Regions from separate parts of the Homo sapiens genome. Here region 2 is linked to region 1. Evidence: promoter capture Hi-C in human tissues and cell types (Jung and others, 2019). All regions are on one chromosome and are shown on one strand. Each heading gives the region's core, a stretch centred on a gene start or on the middle of the fragment in contact. The rest is flanking DNA. Distances are from core to core; before and after follow the strand shown.

What was found. The method cuts DNA at HindIII sites, captures the fragments that hold promoters and counts their contacts. A contact is called where the count stands out against the background at its distance.
Region 2: a fragment that was not itself captured here is called in contact with the fragment with the promoter of EMP1 in region 1 in 1 of the 25 tissues and cell types used here (neural progenitor cells).

The regions. Positions count from the first base shown.
Region 1 is chr12:13,194,910-13,201,288 of GRCh38, reverse strand. It overlaps EMP1 (epithelial membrane protein 1), which reads right to left and starts at 4,563. Exons shown (of 5, transcript NM_001423.3): 1 at 4,417-4,563. RefSeq lists an enhancer at 2,023-2,523. The HindIII fragment of the contact is 16,024 bases long and covers 1-6,379 here.
Region 2 is chr12:13,234,387-13,241,048 of GRCh38, reverse strand. No RefSeq gene overlaps it. Among named protein-coding and RNA genes, the nearest start is that of EMP1, 41 kb to the right of the region's middle. The HindIII fragment of the contact is 6,427 bases long and covers 1-4,784 here.

The DNA of each region.
Region 1 (6,379 bases), core at 3,314-5,813:
ACTACAGGCATGCACTACCACACCCTGCTTTTTAAAATTCTTCTTTTAGAGACAGGGTCTCACTATGTTGCCCAGACTGGTCTCAAACTCCTAGGTTCAAGTGATCCTCCCACCTCAGTCTCCCAAGTAGCTGGGATTACCACGCCTGGGTGAATCTTAGAATCTCAGAGCCATAAGGGGTCTGAAAGAACCACCAAGTTCAACTTCCGAAAGCAAGAAGACAAGTGTCTCGCCTGTGGTTACATGGCAGCGTCAAGATAACACCACTGCCCCTCTGTCTTCCTAGTCAGCTGTCTTACATCTGCTCCAGGATTCTTGCCACGCTTTCAACCTGTGCTGAAAGGGCTCTCTAGTTTAACTACCCGGTTTGAAGAAACAATTCATGAAACAGGCTCAGCAAATAGAAAAACTGTCACAGCCACGTAAGTCCAAGCGCACCAACAGCAGAGGATTCCATTGCAGTTCCAGGGAAATGCCATCTCCACAACACAAAAGAAAACCTTGACCCAAACATTTTGTTAAAAAGGAAGAGAGAAGCAGCAATCACCACAGGTGTTTGTGCTTTCATCTTTCTGCTTTAGTATCAGTGAATCTCCCAGGTAAATTGAAGGAAATGGTTTTACCCAGGCAGGACACCAGGGACTGAATTGTTGCAAAGAGCAGTCTCAGGACGTGTGTATGTCGGGGCTGGGTGCTGAAGATTCAAGTAAACCCCTAACTGGAACCATATTTGGGCTTCCTTGATTACTGAATAGCAAGTGCAGTCCAGAAATTCAAGATCACCTGGGCGGATCTGGGAAGAGTATTAGAAAAGGGAAGCTTATGGTGAGAAAATTCCCGTTCTACGCTGGTTAAGGGTTAGGAGCTCTTCTCAAGGGGCTGATACCCAGATTGCTGGCCAGCAATTACAAGGAGGCTACATTTGATGGGCAGCCTGTTCCCGTAATTACTATGATGGGTGGTGACAATGTATAGGTGTGGGCTACATGAACTATGGACCAAATTATGGGACAATCCCCAAAAGGCCTAGCTAGAAGCCTGTGTCCTGGTATTGGATTGATCTAACCATGACCTAGTAGGTAGCAACACTGGGTGTGTCCCTCCGAGTATGTACATCTGAGAGTCCCAAATAGGCCTGAGCTTTTGTGTTAGGCAGCTATGTACATACATGTGGGAGGTTAAAGAAGGAACCATATTCATGCATTTAGAAAATTAAATACCTCCAAATCAAAAACCCCGTGAGTATGATTGACTATGTACATAATTCCAAACTTCAAAAATGCTCCCTGCCCTTCTGAGCCTTAGGCAAAAAAAAAAAAAAAAAGAAGAAGAAGAAGAAGAAGAAAAGATAATGCAATGTAGATCCATCAAGTTGTATTCATTAAATATTAAATAGGCGTTAAGTGTTTAGAGGATGAGAATCATTGGGTGGAGCAACAACAAAACCAGAATAGATATTTTCTGAGTTGTTTCAGGCCAGCAGAATCAGGAAGTTATAAGGAAGTTGATTTTGCTTGATTTAAGGAACTTTAATAAAATTAGAGTTGGCCTGCTAAGGGGAATGAGTGTGGAGGTACACACTGAGGTTCTGAGCTCCCCGCATCTGGAAATTTTAAGATCTGTAGGATGGCCATCTGTTCAAGATGGTGTAAAAATTAGATTTCTGCATACAGTAGGAGAATGAATGAGATCCAAGATCCCTCCCAAATTTAGAATTCTGTGAACGAAATGAAGGATGAAATGGAACTGACTTGCCTCCTGCCCTTTCCTGTGTCCACGTTTCAGTTATGTGCCCCACCAGGCTCCATAGAGTCTACAGAAAAGCAGTCTTGCCTCATCCACAAGTTTTCCCCGGTCTTCAACGTGTCTCTCTCCAGTAGTCCCTGTGGGTCTGGCACTACCTGAAATCCCTAGAGCCACCCAGAGCAAGCCAAGAGGGTCTACATTCCCGGGTGAGGGGTCTCCATGAAGCCCACTGACAAGGCTGGGAACTTGATGGGCCTAATCTGGTCTCTGGAGGAAGCAGGAAGGGCTGAGGAAGGCACAGTGAGTCCTTTCCACTCTCCACAGAAGGGATCTCTTTCCTTTCCCCAGCGGTCTGCCCAGCAGTCCTGGGAGATAGCCAGATTCTAAGGATGTGATTTGCTCCAAGTTGGTTCTTGATGGCCTTTTGCCAACTCCCAAGACAGTTTAGTACCCACAAACAATGTAAATGTGGGGGGCCCTCTGACCAGGGCGCCAGACAGGATGTCCTGCAGCCCCCGCCCCCGCCCCATTCTTCGGAGTCTGGGTGGAATTGGATCTGCCCCTGAGGGTGGGAGGCAGCGGGCAGAGTGGGGGGGAAAAATAACCCTCACATTTCGGGATTGTCAAAGCTGAAATCCAGAAAAACTCTCACAGCTAAGGGACTCTTTCACTACTTCTTGGAGGAAGAGCAGAGAGCAGGAATCAGAACGGTATTTTTCTAAATTGTCTTCAAACTCCAGGAAGTAACATGTAGCATATTTTCTCCTTTATAAACCTACAGTATCATGTGAAACCTTGCCACAAATAATGCAGTTCATGATGGTTTACACTCCCAACATTGTCAGGGCTTTCCGTGTGTTGACTGGTTATTAGTTTTAACCTGCACAGAACTAAAAGATTTGTATAATTTTCACAGGATATTAACACTATTGATTTAATAATGGCTAATCCACATCCATGTAATGTGGAAATAATAAACATGTGAAGCAAATGTAGGAGTTCCCTTCATCTTGAAAAGTTGCCCTGATGCCTACTCAATCGTCCCCCTTGGGGCAGTTTTACAAGGAGCATTGCCTGCTCAACACAGGGTTGATTACATGTAACTTCTCTCCCAACGTACTGCCTTTCTAAAGGAAAAGCCTAACTTTGTCAGACAAGCTGAATCCTGTCATTCTCATCTTGTTTACTTGGGGAAAAAATATACCAGTGTCTATGTTGAAATGGGCCACACCTCGGTAGACACTCACCCAAAATGCTAACCGAAAAAAAGAAAAAAAGAAAAAAAAGAAAAAGCACCCTTCTTCATTCCTCCAGATTTCATGATTAGCATGAGTGTTTGCATTTATACAATCACATTTCGGGAACAAGAGAAAAGATAAGCATTTCAAAACAATCACTGCCTTCCATGCAAAGAAATTCCACATCCACTTTCTTTTAAAAGTTCTTTTATCGTTTCTGGTATGCCATCTTTTCACTCAGCACTGAAAGGCAGCTCTTTCTGGGGTGAAAGCACAAAGCCACTCAACAATTTTTAACAGGCACAGATGAAGTTCTCCTGCCCCACCCTCTTCTCCAAACCCAGCTTCCCTTTTGCCTCCCCCGCCCTCCACATCTGGCCAAGAGAAGGCATCTGGAATCCTCATCAGCTCCTGCTTCGACCAAGTGAACCCCTCCCACGTTTCATTTAAAACACCATTTGCCTCCCTCTCTTTCTCTCTCTAACAGTTTTCTTTTTTCATTTTTTTTCTTTTTCTTTTTTTTCCTTTTTGAGACAGAGTCTCACTCAGCTGCCCAGGCTGGAGTGTAGTGGCGCAATCTCAGTTCACTGCAACCACCATCTCCCGGATTCAAGCAATTCTCCCGTCTCAGCCTACCAAGTAGCTAGAATTACAGGCACCTGCCATCATGCCTGGCTACTTTTTGTATTTTAGTAGAGACAGGGTTTCACCATGTTGGCCAGGCTTGTCTTGAACTCCTGACCTCAGGTGATCCGCCCGCCTCAGCCTCCCAAAGTGCTAGGATTACAGGCATGAGCCACCGTGCCCGGCCAACAGTTTTCTTTAAACAAACCAATCCCCCTCTTCCCATCCTGTGAGGAGAAAAAAAATACTTAAATTTAAACAGAAGTGAATAGGGAAGCAAACAGGCAGGAAAAGCAATGTCAAAAATAAACTGAAAACCAGTTATCTATCCACCACCACCCAAAAAATCCCAACCAACAACCAGCGAGCAGAGTAACAGTTCAAGTCCTGAAGCAATCGGAATCAAAACGGAGGAGGTGAAAAACATCTGGCCAGTTCCCGATGTCATTTCCAAGGTGTGTGGTGTTTCCTCCATAAACAGGATCCTATCCCAGTTTGTTTCAAAGTCCCTGCTCCCTCCACATCCTAGAACAAGAACCCGGTCACTGCCAGGCACGATTTTAGCCCCATCCCATTGATTTCCCCAGACTCCGTCCTCAAAATACACTTTTCTGAACTTTCTAGAAAAAGTTGTCTCTGTATCCACTTTGAGCCAAAAGTTTCAAGGACTTGGTTCTTAGAGGATCATAGAAAAATAGCGAAGGAAGAAAAGAAAAAGCAAAACTAAGATGAGGTCAGAAGAAGCAGAGCCGTGGAAAGGAAGGAGAAGTTTTGCTGAGAGTCCCCACAGCGTTGGGAGCTGTCCTACCTGAAGGGTCCCAGCGACAGAGGCGCTCTGAGTGGCAGGTGCTGGCAGCAGCCCTGGTCCGCTCTTCTGGAAGTATGTGACCGCACTGAGGGGAAGGACCTGCCTCCCGAGGTTATAAGTTTCCTCTGCTGGTGTACTGGGGTGTGTAATGGGCGGTTTCTTTTCACCGTGTTTTAAAGGAGTTTCTATGAATCAGTCTGGCTTTAAAAAAAAAAAAAAGATTTGTTGGTAAGCTACGCCCTGCTAAGCTGGCAGTCAGTCAAGAGTGGCTGGGAGTGAGCCATCAATTCAAAGAACCCTGTTGTAGGCTCTCTCTGACTCAGACACACAGACCACAGTGGAAAAAAGGAGGGACATTGCTTCAAATGAGTAACAGGATCACACAAATAGATCTGTTTACTGAAGCCCATTCCTCCTCACCAAAAAGGAGACTTGGTTACCATGGACATAAGGCAAAACACAAGGTTTCAGCCTGGGAGGGGGAGGAAAGGGGCCAGTGTCCTGCTGACTGAAGTCCTAGGTCATCATCAAGCGAGATTCCCAGTCTTCCTCCCCCATTAAAAGCATCAGCTGCTGCTCACTGTCAGGAATTATCAGATTCCTTTTTTTATTTACTTCCCTGCCTGACCCTGGTGCACTGTCCTGTGGGTGGCTGTACAGGGAGGCCCTGAAGGCGAAGGGGACACACTAGGAGCTCTTGCAGCCCTGCCTCTGAGTGATGGAGCACTGATTGAACAGCAGAGAATTCCTGGTCTTTCATTATGCTCTGCTAGTGCCCGTGTGGACTCTCCACATTCCAGGAGGAAGTCCTCTAGTTAAGAACTTTGCTCTCTGTAATAATCAGCTGGACCTTGTTCTACAATTGACTTTCTTGAACTTGGCCAGTAGCATAATCATCCCTACTACCTCCCTGCACCACTCCTCTCTCTCTCTCAACTCTGGAGCTGGGAGAGGCCTGTGAAGTCATCTCATCCCACAGCCCAGGCATTCCACTGGAGAGAGTAAAAGCCCAGATGCCTGAGTTCAAGCCCAGCTCTCCACAAATTTGCTGTGTGACTTTAGGCAAACCACTTAACTTCTCCATGCCTATTTTCTCATGCATAAAATGGAGATGGCAGGTATGTAACTCATAGAGCTATGATGAGAAATACACATATAGGGGCTCATGGCAGTGTGCATAGTGAGCGCTCAACAAATCTTAGCTACAAGGATTATTTTACTGAAGAAGCAGCTCAGGCCCAGAGAGGTGAAGTGACTTATTCAAGGAGATACAGTACGTTACCAGTAGCAGCTTGGATCTAGGTCAGCACATCCAAGCAATTCTATTTCTGTTATTCTCTGCTGCACCCTGACAACTTATTTCAATTCAAAATATGCGTGTGTAGTATTTATTCATTCATTCTGCCAATACAGGCTGCACGTCAGTCTTCACTGGGCCTGATTCAGAGCACTGAGTCACAGAAGTGAATGACATCCCTGCCTCTTGGAACTTATATTCCCTAAAAAGATAGAAAACAGACTGGTGGCTATTCACCAAAATGTTGATCAAATTCGATGATAAAATTATGGATGCAGTTTAGTTTGTTCTGGTCACAATTCTGTATTTTCCAAATCCTCTGCAATGAACCTATATTACTGTCTTTAGGATGTTGGCATGTGGATGGATGGATTTTAGGAAAAAATATTTTAACATGGGAATGTGGAGAATATTTTCTAAGGTGGATGATAAGGAAAACACAACACACACACACACACACACACACAATGATTTGATGATGCTGCATCTTCACAAGTCCCTGAGAACTGAATTCTATCTCTGTAAAAGTAAGAAGGTCTGGATTTTCTCACTGAAAACTGATGACGTGATAAAAGACTGCATGTTTCTCATAGAGTTCCTCACCTCTCCCCTCTCTCATTGCTCATTTGATAATAAAAATGCCTGTCTGAGAGGGGCCACTCCCAG
Region 2 (6,662 bases), core at 322-2,821, 43 kb before region 1:
GAGACCATCCTGGCTAACACGGTGAAACCCCGTCTCTACTAAAACACAAAAAATTAGCCGGGCGTGGTGGCGGGCGCCTGTAGTCCCAGCTACTCGGGAGGCTGAGGCAGGAGAATGGCATGAACCTGGGAGGTGGAGGTCGCAGTGAGCCGAGATCATGCCACTGCACTCCAGCCTGGGCGACAGAGCGAGATTCCATCTCAAAAAAAAAAAAAAAAAAGATGAAATGGACAGGGGAAATGTCAAAGCTAGAGATATAAATTTGGGATTCATTTACAGAGAAATTATATGTGAAGCTATAGCAATGAATCAGGTTACTAAAGGAGAAAATGTAAGAAACAGAAAAAAAGTCCAGGACAAAACCTTGGCCATAAAAACACTTGAAGGAAAGGGGAAAGAAGAGAAGGCCAAAAAATATATATATATATATATTAAGAAGGAGCAACAGAGGTTCAAGGAAAATCAGGAGACTGAAGGACCAGGAGATCCAATAAAAACTGAATTTCAATAATCCCAAACATCCTAAAGAGTCAAGAAGGGAGATGTGGGTTAAGAAAAGCCACATGACACAGCATCTTGGAGAACACTGACAGTTTTCAAAAAAAACTATTTCTGCAAAGTGGTGGAAACACAAGCCAGGATGATTATGGCAGTATATTTTGTAGCGAGGGGAAGCATATATATATATAATCATTTACCTTATTTTCCAGCCTCATCAGATGTTTTCAAGGAACAGTTGCAGACTCATTGCCACAAAGTGTACGTCTTCACTAATTTAGTGCCTAGAATATTTTTGGAAGCACCTCAGGTTTTTCTTCAAGATGATGGCCATCAAGAACACCAAACATGCTTCAAGGGCTCAGAACAAGCCTGCCTTAGTCAAAGCATATGTTTTTAGTATGTTCAATGCTAATGACAAATCCTGAGCCTCTGGAGGGGTTCCCACCCCCCTACAACCCTATCCTTATCGTAGGAATGCCAGGAGAATTCATCTTTGGGGCGAAGACTGTCATTTTATTTGTGAAACACTTGAGTGGGACTTGTGGTTATGCAGATGTAAGACTCAGTGTCCAATCTAGGGGGAGGGATTAATACCATAAAGACCTCTGACTTCTAAACAGCAAAATGAAAGAGTTGTAGGCCTTGGGGGCAGAGACTGTCATGCTATTTACTTGTTTTTGGCTTCCTTGAGACTCTAGGAGTTGTGATTCAAGACGTGGGGAATAATGGGAGACAAGAATGCATGGACTATGGAAGAGTATGGCTCCAGCAAGATGGCAGAGACTAAGGAGGGAGACAACCCTGGGAGACTGCATTAGGGACTGGCCAATGGATTCTAGCAGCAGCAGAATCTGTTTTCCAATTTCACATTGTTTCTCCTCAAAGCTATACTTTTTTATAACCTAAGAAATGCATGTGTTCAGTAAAAAATTTCCTAACCCTTACAACCTGTCACTAATAACGAACTTTATTAAGTACTTACAACATAGCAAGCATTCTTCAAAGTGCTCTATGTATTTTAATGAATTAACTTCTCTGCTTTCTATTGCTTTTCCTTTATCTCTACCTCCCATTATTCATTCTCATTTATCTTTTCCATTGTCTTTCCCACTTTCTCCTCTCTCACTCCCTCCATTTTTTTCCCTCTACCTCTCTGTCACTCATTCTCACGGGCTCAATCTCACATAAAAATTAACTCGCAGAATGAGTTAACTTATTTAATCTTCATGGCAACCCAGGGAAAAAAGTATTATTATCAGCCTCATTTCACTGAGGTAAAAAAACTGAGTAAAAAACTGAGGTACAGGAGGTCATACAAGTAACTTAAGGTCATACAACTAGTAAGATTCAGAGCCTGGATTTGAACTCAAGAAGTTTGACTGCAAAGCTTATAATCTTAACCATTGCTACTCTCCATATCTTTGTGATTGCATTGGCTTTGGAAATAAAGGGAAGATCTACAATGACATCTTAAGATGGAGCGGACCAGAAATTGTGGTGCACTGTGGAGAGGCAAGGTGAGCCCAGCAGGAGAAACCTGGGATAATCTGCAGTAAGCCCTTGGCAATGATTTCAGGAGAATATACGCACTTCCTGGGGATGCCTAGAAGCCATCGAGAAGTAGCCTAGAGTTCCCACAGTATCATAGGACAGAGATTTTTAAGGAGAAATTTGCATATGAAAAAGAATGGGTTCTGCTTCTGTGAAATGTGATAATATATGCACGGTGATTTTCACTATGCTTGGATGCTCAGTAATTGGTCACTATATATGTTAAGTCTTCCTGCCCTTTTCTGATACTCTTTCTAACATCCCTTGAAGGGCAGTCCAAATTTTCACTCAATTACCATCATTCAGCTAACATTCACTGTCTGTTACTTGCAGGTCAGCAAGTTGACTCTATGGCACAAGCTTCCCCTTTTCTGGCAATGTTACTTCTGAGCCATGTTTGCAGCCTCCTAAGATGCTTTGCATACTGGAAAATAATTAAACTTACCCACAGATAAATAAACCAGAGTGAATCCATTTTTCTCTATTAATAAAGATTTATGTGAATATTTTTAATGAAGGTAACTGAAAGCAGGTGGAGGAATACGAAGTGTGTACGAAGCAGTTAGTAGTCAACTCGGCAGAGATCGAAGTGTGTCAGACTAAAACAAATATTAGTAAGAACAACATGTGGTCATTTTGCGCCTTTGTAGGAGGAAAGCCAATGAGAAACTTCAGTGTGGAAACATAACTGCTCTCCCACCAAACCCAAAAAGAAGCTAAACTGCTTATCAGGCATGGCGAGTATATGGTATGCGGTCAGCCTTATTAGCATATCTTAATTGAGAATTAGACCGTCATGGCAGAACACATTGTAAGTTTAAAACTTGGGAGACAAAATAATTCATTGAAATTCCCAAGGCACATCTTGTTTCCTACCTATTCCTTGAAATGTTTTCCTTTTTTTTCTCTCTTTGTTTTCCTGTTATTCATTTCTTCCTTCTTTCTTCTACCTTCAGCCATGCTCTCAACTTTCCTGTTCACTATCTAAATCCCTCCTTTTATACAATTATGTTTGTGATATATTTCCGCAATTATCAGAAGTTATTACTTCTTTTCTCTCCCCTCTCTGCTTTATATTGCTTTTCCTTTATCTTTGCCTCCCATTATTCATTCTCATTCATCTTTTTCATTGTCTTTCTCCCCTCTCATTCCCTCTGTCTTTTCCCCTCTACCTCTCTGTCACTCACTCTCACAAGCTCAATCTCACATACAAATTAAATTATTATAAAGAATTTCTTTGCTGGTTACAAATTCCATTCGTGCCCAGGGACTTAGGATTGCATAAGATTGGATGCATCTCACGCCCCGTTGCTCTAAACTGAAAATGTTTTCTTGACCCCCTCTCACTTCACACTACTGGAGGAATAGCATTATCCGTTATCTCCCCAGAGCAGCGATGGGAGGAACATACTGCTGAATATACATTTGGCCATGACTGCATCCATATTATGGAAGACATCATTTGCTCTTAGAACAGAGGACATCAGCACCGGCATTCACAGCCTCATCTGTTAAGTGTGTTTCCCTCATTCTGCAGTTGCTTAGCTCAGACCGGCGAGTACCTGGTGGGCAACCCTTCCTCTGAACTTGGTGGGGAATCATACAATCTGTTGAACTTGGCTCACATATAGCCTAGGAATGGGTACCCCAAATATTCCAGCACTGGTAGTAGTACTGGTAGGTGGTGTGTTTGAAACACAATCTCAAATAAAACAAAGCAACCATATCCCATGGAACTGGCTGTTTATCTCACATACTTGATCTGGTTGGGAGATGAATCAATGAGATCTGAAGTATTTTCCAGGGTACATACACAATGCTGTTGGTCTAGGCCTTGGTGTTATTCTCATGAGTGGTAGTCTAAATTGCAGAGCCATGCAGAGGGACTTATATTTGCCAGGAACGTATTAACTATATACTGCTTTCTGGGTAGTGGCTGGGACTTTGGAATAATTATTCTACAAGTTCACATGAGCATGAAAGATCTGACCCTGGGTGGGTCTTGGGGGCATTTTCTCTTCATGGCAAGCCTTGATAATGCCAAGCTCTAGCTGGCCCCTTAAGAAACCTCTGAGCCTTGGCCAGGGATGATTTTCAAGGTCTCTGACAGATCAGTAGTAAACAAAAAGTATCCCTGGACAGTCAAGAAGAAACCCCAGTTAATTGGTCTTCAAAATACCTAAGATCAGGCCAGGCACAGTGGCTCACACATGTAATCCCAGCACTCTGGGAGGCCTAGGCAGGTGGATTGCTTGAGCCCAGGAGTTCAAGACAAGCCTGAGCAACATGGCAAAACCCATCTCTACAAAAAATACAACAAATTAGCTGGGCATGATGGTGTACACCGGTAGTCCCAGCTACCCGGGAGGCTGAGGTGGGAGGATCGATAGAGCCAAGAAGGTCAAGGCTGCAGTGAGCCGTGATGGTGTCACTGAATTCCAGCCTGGGTGACAGAGTGAGCTGCTGTCTCAAAAAAAAAAAAAAGTAAAGAAAGTACTTAAGATCCAAGCTTGGCCTAGGATTATTCAGAAACCCTAGGGAATGTGGAAACCTGTCCCAATCCCACCAGACTCTAATTACTCTAGAAACTACACTCAGGTATTTAGTTTACACTGCTATAAGCCATAGAACTAACTGTTAACTTTATGACATGTCTTGCTTATTAAGCCACATGGTGCAAGTCAGGGATGTAATATGGTTAATCTCCTTTTTTTAAGTAGGATGTGCCCAAGAGAATATATATATATATATTCCTTCACCCAGAAATAGAGACACAGACCCAGAGACAGGCTCATGCTTAACGCCTACCATGAAACTCCTACCAGTCTCTATGGTGGTAGGATCTCTGACGGAGGTTGGGTCTCTGATGGAGGTTGGGTCTCTGATGAAGGTTGGGTTGTTGGGACCTGGTCTGATGTAGCTCTCTACATGGAATTGACAGTAGATATTCCAAGCTTAGCCACCTGCTGCTATCTTCTGAGCAAGAAGGGGCTCTAATGTATAAAATCTATCAAAGAACATAGAAAGGTTTCCTCTCTGAGCCAGGCAAGTAATCTCCCCAATAGCCAAGAAGAGTAACAGAAGATGTGCACCCTATAATGCTGGTCTTGGGGTGTAGGTGTATGAAACAGAAAAACAGGCCACAAATATGCAACTTCAAATTTAACTTCTTCTGAGGCATTTTTCTGGAAAACCTTCAGCTCTATGGGTATGACTCAATTAGTGTTCACTGAACATTTAACTTATTGGAAATATCGGAAATCAAATAATATTTCCAAATTTCAGGTGAAAAAACTGAGTCAAAAGATCACTAAGAGACACAACAAAGTGACTCAGAAAAAAAGATGAATTTATGTATCTGGTTTCTGAATCTCTAGGACTATTGTGTTCACTACAGAATACTAAATGCTTTGTCTCAAAATCCATTGAAAGATTGTATAGTTGCATAAGCTCCATTCATCTCAGCTACTAGTAACCCACAGTTATCTTGGGATACAAACCAAAGAAATATGAAATGCAACTAAATTTCAAAAAAGAAATAGTGTTGCAGGAATACAATTTCCCAAACACATGTTAGTTAATATTCCAGTATTAACTTTTACACTTTGCCTTTTATCTTGGCATGTCAAAGTACATAAACCATTATTCTAAGATCTTCGCCTTCATTCTCTCAAGATAAAAAAGGAGATTCAGAAATAATTGTGCCCAGTAATCCCCTAAGGAAACTAAAGCTCATAGAATTTCAGTGGAAGCTCTGCTTCCAGTTTAAAGTAACTCTGCACCCCAGGTTGCCCAAGGCCATGCCAATTTCAAAGATTCTGTCCCAATATCACCACATGTGGCCTCTCACTTCTCAGACTAGCCTGACTAGGCTCTGGGAAACATGGACTCTAGCTTCCAATACTCATTGACCCATTTAACAGATGTTAATGACCTACTGTGCACATGACAGGGTTAAAGTAAATAAAACTCCATCATGTCTTGGTGGAAATATGAACAATTATGCCCATTAGCATTGTTCGAGAGGCTAGTAGGCATAATTGCTATATTTCCACCAAGACATAATGGTGCAGGGGAGGGCGGGGCAGGAGGCAGTTCATGGAAGATGGAGCCTTGGAGCTGGCTCTGAGTGGGACAGGATTCAACTGTCAGGTAAAAGTGGGAGCAGAGCACTTCAGGTAGAGAGAACAGCATGAAGGCCGACAGGGCTTTGATGATGTAGAGGCGTAGTTTTGAGGAATGGTCCAGATGCCTTAGGCATGAGCATGCAATGATTGAGGAGGCGGGAGTGTAGAAGAGAGTGAAACTAGAAAGCCAGGTAGAACCCAGGCTTTGAAGTGTCCCGGATGCCAGGCTGAGGAGCTGGGACTTTATTCTTCATACAGTAGGGAGCCATTGCTTGTTTTTAAGCAGAGTGGTGGCCTGAGAAAATATGAACATCAGGAAAATGTATATGTGGAGAAGGAGAATGTGTGGAGGGGAGATCAATTACAAGCTGATATTTTTAGATGGGAGGAGGCAATAAGCCAGATAAGACGCTGGGGTTTGAACGAGGCCAGGCAGTAAGGTCACAGACGGGGATGCAGATTTCAGGAAAGGCTGGATATGGA